2 separate regions of the Homo sapiens genome follow, and region 2 is linked to region 1. Evidence: promoter capture Hi-C in 16 types of primary human blood cells and fetal thymus (Javierre and others, 2016). All regions are on one chromosome and are shown on one strand. Each heading gives the region's core, a stretch centred on a gene start or on the middle of the fragment in contact. The rest is flanking DNA. Distances are from core to core; before and after follow the strand shown. Region 1 holds the start of NTNG1 (netrin G1). Region 2 has its middle 120 kb from the start of LINC01709.

The links. Contacts are between HindIII fragments. The CHiCAGO score rates a contact against its expected background, and 5 or more counts as called.
Region 2: a fragment that was not itself captured here is called in contact with the fragment with the promoter of NTNG1 in region 1 in 3 of 17 cell types (total CD4 T cells, total CD8 T cells and non-activated CD4 T cells); the score reaches 11.4 in total CD4 T cells.

The regions. Positions count from the first base shown.
Region 1 is chr1:107,138,754-107,144,397 of GRCh38, forward strand. It overlaps NTNG1 (netrin G1), which reads left to right and starts at 2,286. Exons shown (of 8, transcript NM_001113226.3): 1 at 2,286-2,387. RefSeq lists an enhancer at 1,926-2,457 and silencers at 2,391-2,680, 2,701-2,980. The HindIII fragment of the contact is 6,022 bases long and covers 1-3,986 here.
Region 2 is chr1:101,513,124-101,518,078 of GRCh38, forward strand. No RefSeq gene overlaps it. Among named protein-coding and RNA genes, the nearest start is that of LINC01709, 120 kb to the right of the region's middle. The HindIII fragment of the contact is 6,534 bases long and covers 120-4,955 here.

The DNA.
Region 1 (5,644 bases), core at 1,036-3,535:
ATTGTTTATTATATCCTATTGCAAAGGGCTCCCATAGAAAGAACTGGGATCTAAGGGCCTGTGAAGGAGGATTAGGTGGTGAGTAACATCTCCATATAGTCAGTATGTTTTAAACCTGGAGGAGCATGGCTAGAGACAGGGGGAAGAGCCAGACTTGGCCACTGTCTAAGAACCCTTGGTAGGAGTTTCAGCCCTGCAGGTAACTCTTTTTTGCAATGTCAGCACTACAGGACAAAGGTGGGAAAGAGGAAAGCACATGAATCCCAGATTCCTGCACTCAGAGATTCCGAAGGCGACTTATTGTGGCCTCTTAGGTGTTAGAGGGAAGGCTGGGGGTGCCTGAAATCCCTGCCCACTTCCTGGCTGCCCAGGGCCAAGGAGGGCCTGGTTATAGGCCCAACTCAACAAACTTCTCCCCCATCCATCCTTTTACCACACCACCCCCAGTCATCACAGAAAAATGACCCAATTACTCAGCCTCCTGCCTTAATTGTGGGACACATAGTGACTAAGTGTTCACAATTGCCCATTTCTTCCACCCCCCCCCCACCCGCCACTTTGCCTTGACCAAACATGAGTCAGGCTTCTCTCCAGCAGGTCCCTGGAATTTAGCTTGCCCCCCAAATCTGAGCAAGAACTAAAATGTGAAACATTCACCATTGTTAGCTTATCTTCCAAATTCTTGGACCACAGAGACACATTTCTTGTTCAACCAAGAGGGTCTTGAAGTGAGTTGTTTCCCCCATCCACTTGGCTTTGCCTATTGCTTGCTCCCCCTTATATATATAGAAAAAAAAGGCCGATTTCTGTTTGGTTTTGAGAGGTTTGCAGATTTCTGAGATCAGAGCGTTTTCCCTGTTGCAATAGTCTTTCTTTCTAATGGAAGTCTCCCTATCTTATCTAAATTCGGATTTGTTTCTGTTTGACGTTAATGTGTAGCTAAGAGTGATCCCAGGTGAGTCTGAGCCCGCCTTGGTGGGGAATGAAGCCTGGAGCATCGGAGCATTTGTCTTTCTCTTAGAAAAGGCAAGGAAGCCTGAAATGCGCAGCTCTCCCTTGAACTTCAACTTTTTAAAGGGGAATGAATTTCTAAAGGAGGAGTTTCCAGTCTAGGGCTGTAGGGGCCTCCGGGCAAAGGAAGTGCTTGTTGAAAAACAACATTGTGATCACTTCCAGCGGCGAAGGGTGTGCTTGGGAACGGTTTGGGGAGGGGACAGAAGAGAGAGGGGTGGGATGGACGGCGGCAGAAGTGGGAGGTACACGAGGAGTTACTGGAAACGGCGCTTCTGTGGAGGAGCCGGGGGGGATGGGGAGTAGAGGGAGGGGGCCCTGTTGCCTCAGCGCCCCGAGGTCGTGGAGCGGCAGCAGCTGCAGCCGGAGCAGCACCAGCAACAGCAACAGCGAGCGGGACGGAGTTAGGACCGCTCGGAGCGCACAGGTCTCGAGGTAGTATAAGGTTTGCTATCCTTCCACTTGCTGGCAGTTGCAGAAGAAGATCTGCTTTTTAAGTGAAACGTACATGCCACCCCTCCGAGGGCTGCGGCTTCCCCGGGCTTGCTTCTTTGCCGCTCCTCTTTCCGGCTCTCGCGCTCACTCTTTAATTGGCACTGGCCCCTAAGTTTGCCAGGAGCTCGCTGCCCGCTCGGAGCAGGGTCCCGGCCGGGAGCCGCTGGTGGGGGCGGGGAGTCCGGGAGCCGCAATCCAGAAGCGTCGTGGGCCATGTATATTTCATCAAACGGACTTTGGGTGCGTCGCGTCTCACTGCCATCAGTGCTATGTGCAGTGACATTTCTGACTTGAGTGGAGGAATGCGCGAAGGAAACCCGGGCGAAATTGGTATTAGAGGATCTTCTTGGCGCCAATGCTAATTGTCCTGATTTATGCCCCTTCTGACTAAGCTCAACGTCTTCATCTGAAATAAAATGAAAGCGGTGCCAAGCGGCATAGAACCGCCTGGCCGCTGGTTCTGATCCCCGGGAACCAGAAAATCGTCCTGCGGCTTGAAAAAAAAAAAAAGAGGAAAAAAAAAAGAAATAGAAATAGAAAAAAGAAAAAATATCCCTCAGTAAAAGTTTAAGGCGAGAAGTGTCAGAGGCAGCGGAGCGAGGAGGCGCGGAGGAGAGCCGGCGAGCAGGGGACTGGGCTGGCACGACCTCCGAAGGCTGAGATCTCATTATTAATATCACTATATTTTTGGAGGGAGAGGCACCTTTCTCATCCTCTCTTCCTCTCCGCCCACCCTTACTCCCTCCCCCTCATCTACCTGTCAAAGTCACTGATCTTTTGCATTTCGGAAGAGGACGTCAACGGGAAGGAATTCCCCCTCTGGGTGCGGGCTCCGAGAGGGGGCGACTTGCAGGAGGCTCCCCCCGGGGGCGGAGGCGAAGGTAATTAAGCGGCGGGGAGTGGCGGGCCGGCGCTGGGTTCTCGGTCCTCGGGGTCCTCTCCCGCCGGCGGCCGGGCGCGATCGGAATCCCCGGGCTGCGGCGGTGGCGGCGGCTCGGGTCCTCACGCCCACCCCTCCCGCTCCGCCCGCTCCCGCCTGGGGAGGAGGCTCCGCGGGAGCTGCCGCCCTCCGCCCGTACGCCGCCCGCGGGCTCCGCTGCTGCGGCCGCCGCCCGAGGCGGACCAGGCTGGCTGCGCAGGGCCGCCGCCCCGCGCCGTCGGCTCGGCTCCCGCCCGGCGCAAGGGCAAACGAGCCACACGGTAAGTGCCTGCGGCTCGCCTCTCCTACTGCGACCCGAGCCTCTCGCCCGTGCCCCTCTCCCCCGGGTTTCCCCACCCCCCGCCGCCCCCCGCCCCACCCGCTGCGATGCACAGGCGGGAGGGAAGGCTCCGGGTGGGCGAGGAACTTTGTAAAGCGCCCCGAGGAGGCAGCGCGCGGAGCCCTACGCGCACACACAGCGGCACACGCTCACACCCACACACAAGTCTTCCCGGGGGTGCGCCCCGGGCCGGTGATGCGTCCTCTTGTTGTGTCCGGAGCCCAGGCGTGGGGTCTGAGCCTCCATCCGCCGACTGACAGGGGCCCCGCGCTCTCCCTCTCTCACGCACACCTGGCCACACACATCGCTCAGGCGGCTTGTCGTTATTTTTTCTTTCTTTCGCCAATTATATTTGTTTGGGGAAAAGCAAACAAAAAAAACAAAAAAACACTTGCCCTATTGCCGGCCTTGGGGATCTGGTGGCCACATCGAGAGCTTTTGAAGTCCCTTCTTTTAATCGCCTTTATTGGTGCTAGATTAAAACATTACTATCCCATGTTGTGCAGCTGGGGAGAAAGGGAAATTGAAAGAGGAAGACTTGGTGTAGGGATGCTGTTTGGAATATTCTCTCATATTCTTTACTGGCATCATATTAATCGGTTGATGGATTCGGCTAGGGACACTGAATTGCACTCCTGTATGGATCTGTGGATATCTATATATAATACAAATAATACTGAATATTATTGGGCCTAAAATAACCAATTAAGTGATTCATACAAGGAAAAACTTAGATATAAAAAGAAACTGCGCCCTCTGCTGTTAATTTTAGTACCCTCACCCGGGGACTTTTTTTTTTTTTCCTTCAGAAATCCACTTAAGAGTAGGCTGTCATCTTACAGGGCAAGGGAAGAAAATTCCTAGCGGGGATTTTAAAGCAACTTTACTTGGAAAAGTCGCAGGTTGAGCTCCTATAGTTGCATCAGGTACAGATTTCCAGTGAGTAGACGGTCCTCCTCTCTCACCCATTCTTCTCTTTATACAGGGAATAATGGAGCCACTCCTCATAACAAATTGTCAATCTTTGGAATGGAAAATTCTGAGTAAGATTCAGAACTCCACTAAACATATGGTGAATCTGGCAGTAGAATTGCTCTAGAAATAAGGCCCTGTTTTATGACTGAAAATACTAAAAGTTGTTTTATCTTACAGAAATGAAAAAAAAAAAAACCCAGGAAGATCTTCCATTAAAATCACTTATTCAGATATGCTTAGTAGTTAAGCTTGTTGGAAAGTTTTCCAAAAAATAATTTTTTTTTTTTTCAGGGGAGGCTTTTCTGTTTTGTTTGTCCCTTGAGGAGGATCTCTAGTGAGGGAATTAGCAATTCCACATTTCATTAAGTATTTTGAACTGTGTCACTTTGAATGCCTTACCCGCCTCCCTTTCTCTTTGGCAAAGGAAAAGCAGCTCAGTAACTGTCCAAGATTCTTTTTGAAGATAAGCAACTTTCGATTTTTCATTAAGATAAAATTTGGATCTCTGCATGTGGATCAACATGCAAGGAAAAATGTGCATCAAGTATTTCACATGTAATGTTGTTCCAGGGATATATTTTCTTTTCTGGATGCCGTGAAATGAGATATATTTCACCCACTGAAGACCACCATGAAGGCATTCAGGATTCTATATACTGCACTACTAATTTGGTGGTATTTCCTTACTGTGGAATTTAAGACGGATAATCTTAAAACTTTTGCATGGAAACAGTTTATTTGAACATAAAGCTGGTTTCCTGTTAATATTTTTGTTTTGTCAGTTTTCAATGGGTATATGTGTTAAAATGATTCAGGTTAGCCTTTTTAGGAGGAGGCAAATGTATTTTGCAGTTTCCTTTTGTATATTTGCAAGTGGTGCAAATACCTATTTTTGCTTCCATTATTATTCTGAAAAATATTCAGGTAATTTGTTTAAAAAGTTAAACCATTACACATTTATTTGATAGGATTTCTAAGTGTCATAAAAATTTGGAGAGTTTTAGTTACAAAGGCATCAAGTCACTTGGAAAAAAGAAAATTGGATTCAACTTTGAAAACCAATTATATGTTAACATTGAAATATATGTGTGTGAATTATATTGTATAGGAGATTATATTAGTAAAGTCTTAGGTTAGTATGAGATTTAGCATACTTTAAAAAATAATTTTATTTGCAGAATCCAAAGTTCTGTTTCAAAACTTCAGGTAGGTGTAGATTTTCTCATATATGCGTTTGAGACCTTAGATCTCTGAACTTCCCTGCATGAGAATTAAATATTTGTTTTTCATGTGGTAATTAAATTCCAGATTTCTTCTAGGCTTAACTGATTCTGAAATAGTTTTGGGTATTATCCCATCCTCAATCATCCTGCAAAACATGTGCTATCTAATTTCTTGAATCAGTCTTCTCTCAATGAAAATAGAGATCTTTCAATTACCACGGTGTGTTATTTGGGTTTATTAAGAATCTCATGATAGACAGTTGCTCATAATACCCAATCAAGTGTGAGTAAGCTATGCCAATGATGTTGCAGTACATATTAAATTCCTTATATTTTGAGAGACAGTTAACAAAAGGATAGAAGCATATGTTTTCCATTAAGTTGACTAGAAAATGCTTTCTTCAGAACAAATAGCTGCAAAGAGCATTGAATACATGTTAAAATATCTTATGTAATAAATTTCATTATGACTGTTGGAAGCTGCTAATTTTGATAGGTTATAATTTTGTATATCTTTATCTTTTTATATTTTCACTCAATGATCTATATAGTCAATTTTCCTTTTGTTCCTTCCCATTCAGAAACATGCATATTTATAAAATTCTTAATGTGAATGAGGAATGAGTCAATAGTTGTGTATTTCAGGTACCCCTGAAAAGCTGAATATTTATGAAAAAAATA
Region 2 (4,955 bases), core at 2,137-4,636, 5.6 Mb before region 1:
AATGTGCTTTCTCTATTATCATAAAATATACATAACATAAAGTGTACCATTTTAAACATTTTTCAGTGTATAATTCATTAAGAACATTTACATTACTATGTAAAAGTGCTTTTAATTAAAGCTTTAAGAAATAATCTTTCTAAACATTTAAGCAAATTTTGTAAATCTGACAAATCAAACTTATAAATATAAATAGGGTTTTCCTAAAATTTATGTTATGCTCACAAACTTAATTTCTTTCATACCTTTTAGATTAAAATATCAGTTAGATATTTCAATGTAAAATTAAAAGCTGTCATGTTAGATTTTCTTAAACAGTTTGAAATTTAACAAATCTGTAAAAGAAAATGTTTCAGACAATTTATGAGAATATGACAAAGTTTTATTACCATCTTGATACAAAAGAAGAGGGCCTAGTAGGCCAATTAAAACATTCATTTTCTATAGATCCATTATACAGGAAAAGGAATGATTACATAATTCACGTTAGATTTGTGAAGAAAATATTCAAAGATTTAGAAATTGGCAAAAGAGATGATTGTCCTTTTAGAGGAGTGTTTAAATGAGATTCCCTTTAGGGATAATGGGACTTTATAGGGTGTGTACCTTTGCGTTTCTCTGTCCAGACTAGTTTACAACCCTGTAGGAGAGGAAATTAAATTGTAGAAACTGATAGTATTCAAATGAGTCTCACTCATGACAATGCAAAAGAAACTTGTCCTGTAGAGATACAATTTATTTTTACCCTGTAGAAGAGATCATCTGAAACACTAAATTTTAAGTTGTTAACCAGGTTGTATCTCTTAGCAGATTCATTTAGCAGCCCCAATTGCCTGTATAATAGACAGATTAGTTAGTTAGATAGGTAGGTAGATAGGTAGATAGATGGATAGATAGATAGATAGATAGATAGATAGATAGATAGATAGTGCTTCACATTATAATTTTTTTTTTTTAATTTAAGAGATGTGGTCTCACTCTGTCTCCCAGGCTATAGTGCAGTGGCACAATCATAGTTCATTGCATCCTAGAATGCCTGAGCTCAAACCATCCTCCTGCCTCAGCCCACTGAGTAGACGACAGGTGTGGTCACCATGCCTGGAGAATTTGCTTCATACTTTTAGAGATGGTCTTGTTGTGTTGCCTATGCTGATCTCGAACTCTTGGCCTTAAGCAGTCTTCCTGCCTCAGACTCTAAATTCTCCTTCTTAAAAAAAAATTAAAATTGATATATATGTACATATTTATGGGGTACATGTGAAAATTTAATACATTCATATAATGTGTACAGATCAAATCAGTGTAATTATGATATCTACCATCTTAAATATTTATCTTTTCTTTATGTTAGAAACATTCAAATCATTCTTTTCTAGTTTTTGAAATATATAATAGATTATTGTAAACTGTAGTCCAGTTGGTATCTATCAAACACTAGGTCTTATTTCTTCTATCAAACTGTATATTTATACCCATTATTTAAACTCTCTTCATCCTCCCTCTCTCCTACCCTTCCTGGCTTCTGGTAACCACCAATCTACTCTCTATCTTCATGAGATCCACTTTTTTAGCTCCCATATTTGAACAAGAACATGCGATATTTATCTTTCTGTGATTGTCTCATTTCACATAATGACCTCCACTTCCATCTATGTGGTTGCAAGTGACAGGATTTCATTCCTTTTTATGGGTCAGTAATATTTCATTGTGTATCTATACCACATTTTCTTTATTCATCCATCTATGGGCACACTGGTTGATTCCATATTTTGGCTATTGTGAATAGTGCTGCAATGAACATGGGAATGCAGATATGTCTTCAATATATTTATTTTCTTTCTTTTGGATATATATGCAGTAGTGAAATTGCTGGACCATATACTAGTTCTATTTTAAGTTTTTTGAGAAGCCTCCATACAGGCTGTACTCCATACAGCTGCCTTACTAATTTATACACACAGCAACAGTGTATGAGGGTTGCCCTTTCTACACACCCTCACCAGCATTCATTACTCCCTGTGTTTTTGATAAATCTTTGCCCAGAACAATGTCCTGGAGCATTTCCCCAGTGTTTTCTTCTAGTATTTTTGTAGTTTCAGGTTTTGCATTTAAGTCTTTAATCCATTTTGATTTGATTTTCATATGTGGTGAGAGATAGGGGTCTAATTTCATTTTTGTGCATATAGTTATCTAGTTTTCCCAATACCATTTATTGAAGAGAATGTCTTTTCTCCATTGTATGTTCTTGGCACCTTTGTCAAAGATGAGTTGGCTATAAATACATGCATTTACGTCTGGGTTCTCTATTTTGTTCTGTTGGTCTATATGTCCTTTTATGTCAGTACCATACTTATTTGGTTACTTTGTAGTACATGTTGTAGTGTATTTTGAAGTCAAATCGTATGATGCCTCCAGCTTTGTTCTTTTGATTCAGGATTGCATTCGCTATTTGGGGTATTTTGTGGTTCTTTATGAATTTTAGGATTGTTTTTTCTATTTCTGTGAAGAATAACGTTGGTATTTTGGTAAAGATTGCTTTAAATTTGTAGAGTGCTTTGGGTAGAATTGTCATTTCACAATATTAATTCTTCCAATCTGTGAGCATGTAATGTATTTCTATTTTTTCATGTCCTCTTCAATTTCTTTTATCAGTGTTTTAAAGTTTTCCTTGTACAGATGTTTCACTTTGGTTAAATTGATTCCTAGGTATTTTATATTATTTGTAGTTGTGTTAAATGGAATTGCTTTCTTGGTTTATTTTTCAGATTGTTTTCTGTTGGCATATATAAATGCTGCTAATTTTTGTATGTTAATTTTGTATTCTGCAAGTTTAACAAATTTATCAGTTAAATTTAACAGTTTTTTTGATGGAATCTTTAGGTTTTTCTAAGTATAACATTATGTCATCTGCAAATAGAGACAATTTGATTTCCTCTTTTCCAATTTGTATAAGTTTTATTTATTTTCCTTGCTTAATTGCTTTGGTCAGTACTTCCAGTATTATGTTGAATAAAAGTAAGAAAGGGCTAGGCACAATGGCTCATGATTGTAATCCCAGCATTTTGCGGGGGGGGGGGCAAGGTGGGAGGATTGTTTGAGTCCAGGGTTCAAGACCAGCCTGGCAACATTGTGGGACCCTGTCTCCACAGAAAGTTAAAAAAAAAATTTAGCTGGGTGTGGTGGCATGCACCTGTGGTCCCAGCTACTAGGGAGGCTGAGGTGAAAACATTGCTTTAGGCCAGAAGTTTGAGGCTGCAGTGAGCCATGATCACACCACTGCACTCCAGCCTGGGTGACAGAGTGAGACCCCATCTCTATTTAAAAAAAAAATTAATGAAGGTGGATGTCCTTGTCTTCTTCTAGATTTTAGAGAAAAGTCTTTTAATTTTACCTGTTTAATATGATGTTAGCTGTGGGTTTGTCATAGATAGTCTTTATTATTTTGAGATATGTTCCGTTTATACCCACTTTGTTGAGAGTTTTTATCAGAAAGAATGTTGAATTTTACTGAATGCTTTTTTGGCACCTATTGAAATGATCATAGTTTTTGTCCTTGATTGTATTAATGTAATGTATTAGTCGGTTCTCACACTGCTATGAAGAACTACCTGAGACTGGGTAATTTATGAAGAAAAGAGGTTTAATTGACTCACAGTTCCGCACGCTGTACAGGAAACATGGCTGGCAGGCCTCAGGAAACTTACAATCATGATGGAAGGGTGAAGGGGAAGCAAGCACATCTTCACATGGCAGCAGGGGAGAGAGAGAGTGAAGGGGGAAGTGCTACACACTTTTAAGCAACCAGATCTCATGATAACTCAGCCACTATCATGAGAACAGCAAGGGGGACCTATGCCCCCATGCTCCAGTCACCTCCCACCAGGTCCTTCCCCCAACATTGGGAATTACAATTCAGTATGAAATTTGGGTAGTGACACAAAGCCAAACCATATAATGTGATGTATCATGTTTATTGATTTATGTATGTTGAACAATCCTTGCATCTCTGGGATGAATCCCATTTGATCACAGTGTGTGCTTTTTTAAGTGTGTTGTTGAATTTGGTTTGTTAGTATTTTATTGAGGATTTTTGTGTTTATGTTCGTCAGGGATATTGGCCTGTAGTTTTCTTTCTTTTGTTATGTTTTTGCCTGATTTTAGTATCAATGCTGGCCTCATAGAATGAGTTTAGAATATTCTCTCCTCTTTGATTTGTTTAAAGATTTTGAGTAGAGTTGGCATTAGATTTCAAAAATGTATTTGGTAGAATTCTGTGGTAAAGCCATCAAGTCCTAGGCTTTTCTTTTATGGGAGACTTTTTATTATGGCTTCAATCTTGTTATTTGTTGCTGGTTTGTTAAGGTTTTCTATTTATTCATGGTTCAATCATAGTAGGTTGCATGCGTTCAGGAATTTATCCATTTCTTCTAGGTTTTCTAATTTGTTGACATATAGTTGTTCATAATAGTTGTTAATGATTCTTTTTATTTTTGTGATCTCTGTTGTTGTGTCTCCTTTTTTGGCTTCTGAATACATTTATTTGATCTTCTCTCTTTTTTTTTTCTTAATCTAGCTAAAGGTTTGCCAATTTTGTGTGTCTTTTAAAAAATCAAGTTTTCACTTTGTTGATTATCTGCCTTTAGTTTCAATTTTGTTTATTTCTGCTCTGATTTTTATTATTTCTTTCCTTCTACTAATTTTGGGTTTGATTTGTTTTTGCTTTTCTAGTTCCTTAAGGTGCATCATTAGGTTGTTTATTTGAAGTCTTTCTACCTTTTTGATATAGGTATTTATTGATACAAACTTCCCTCTCAGTACTACTTCTGCTGTATCCCATAGATTTTGCTATGTTGTATTTCCATTTTTAATTGTTTAAAAAATGTAAATTTATTTCTTAATTTCTTCATTGACCTATTGCTCATTCAGGAGTAAGTTGCTGAATTTCAAAATGTTTC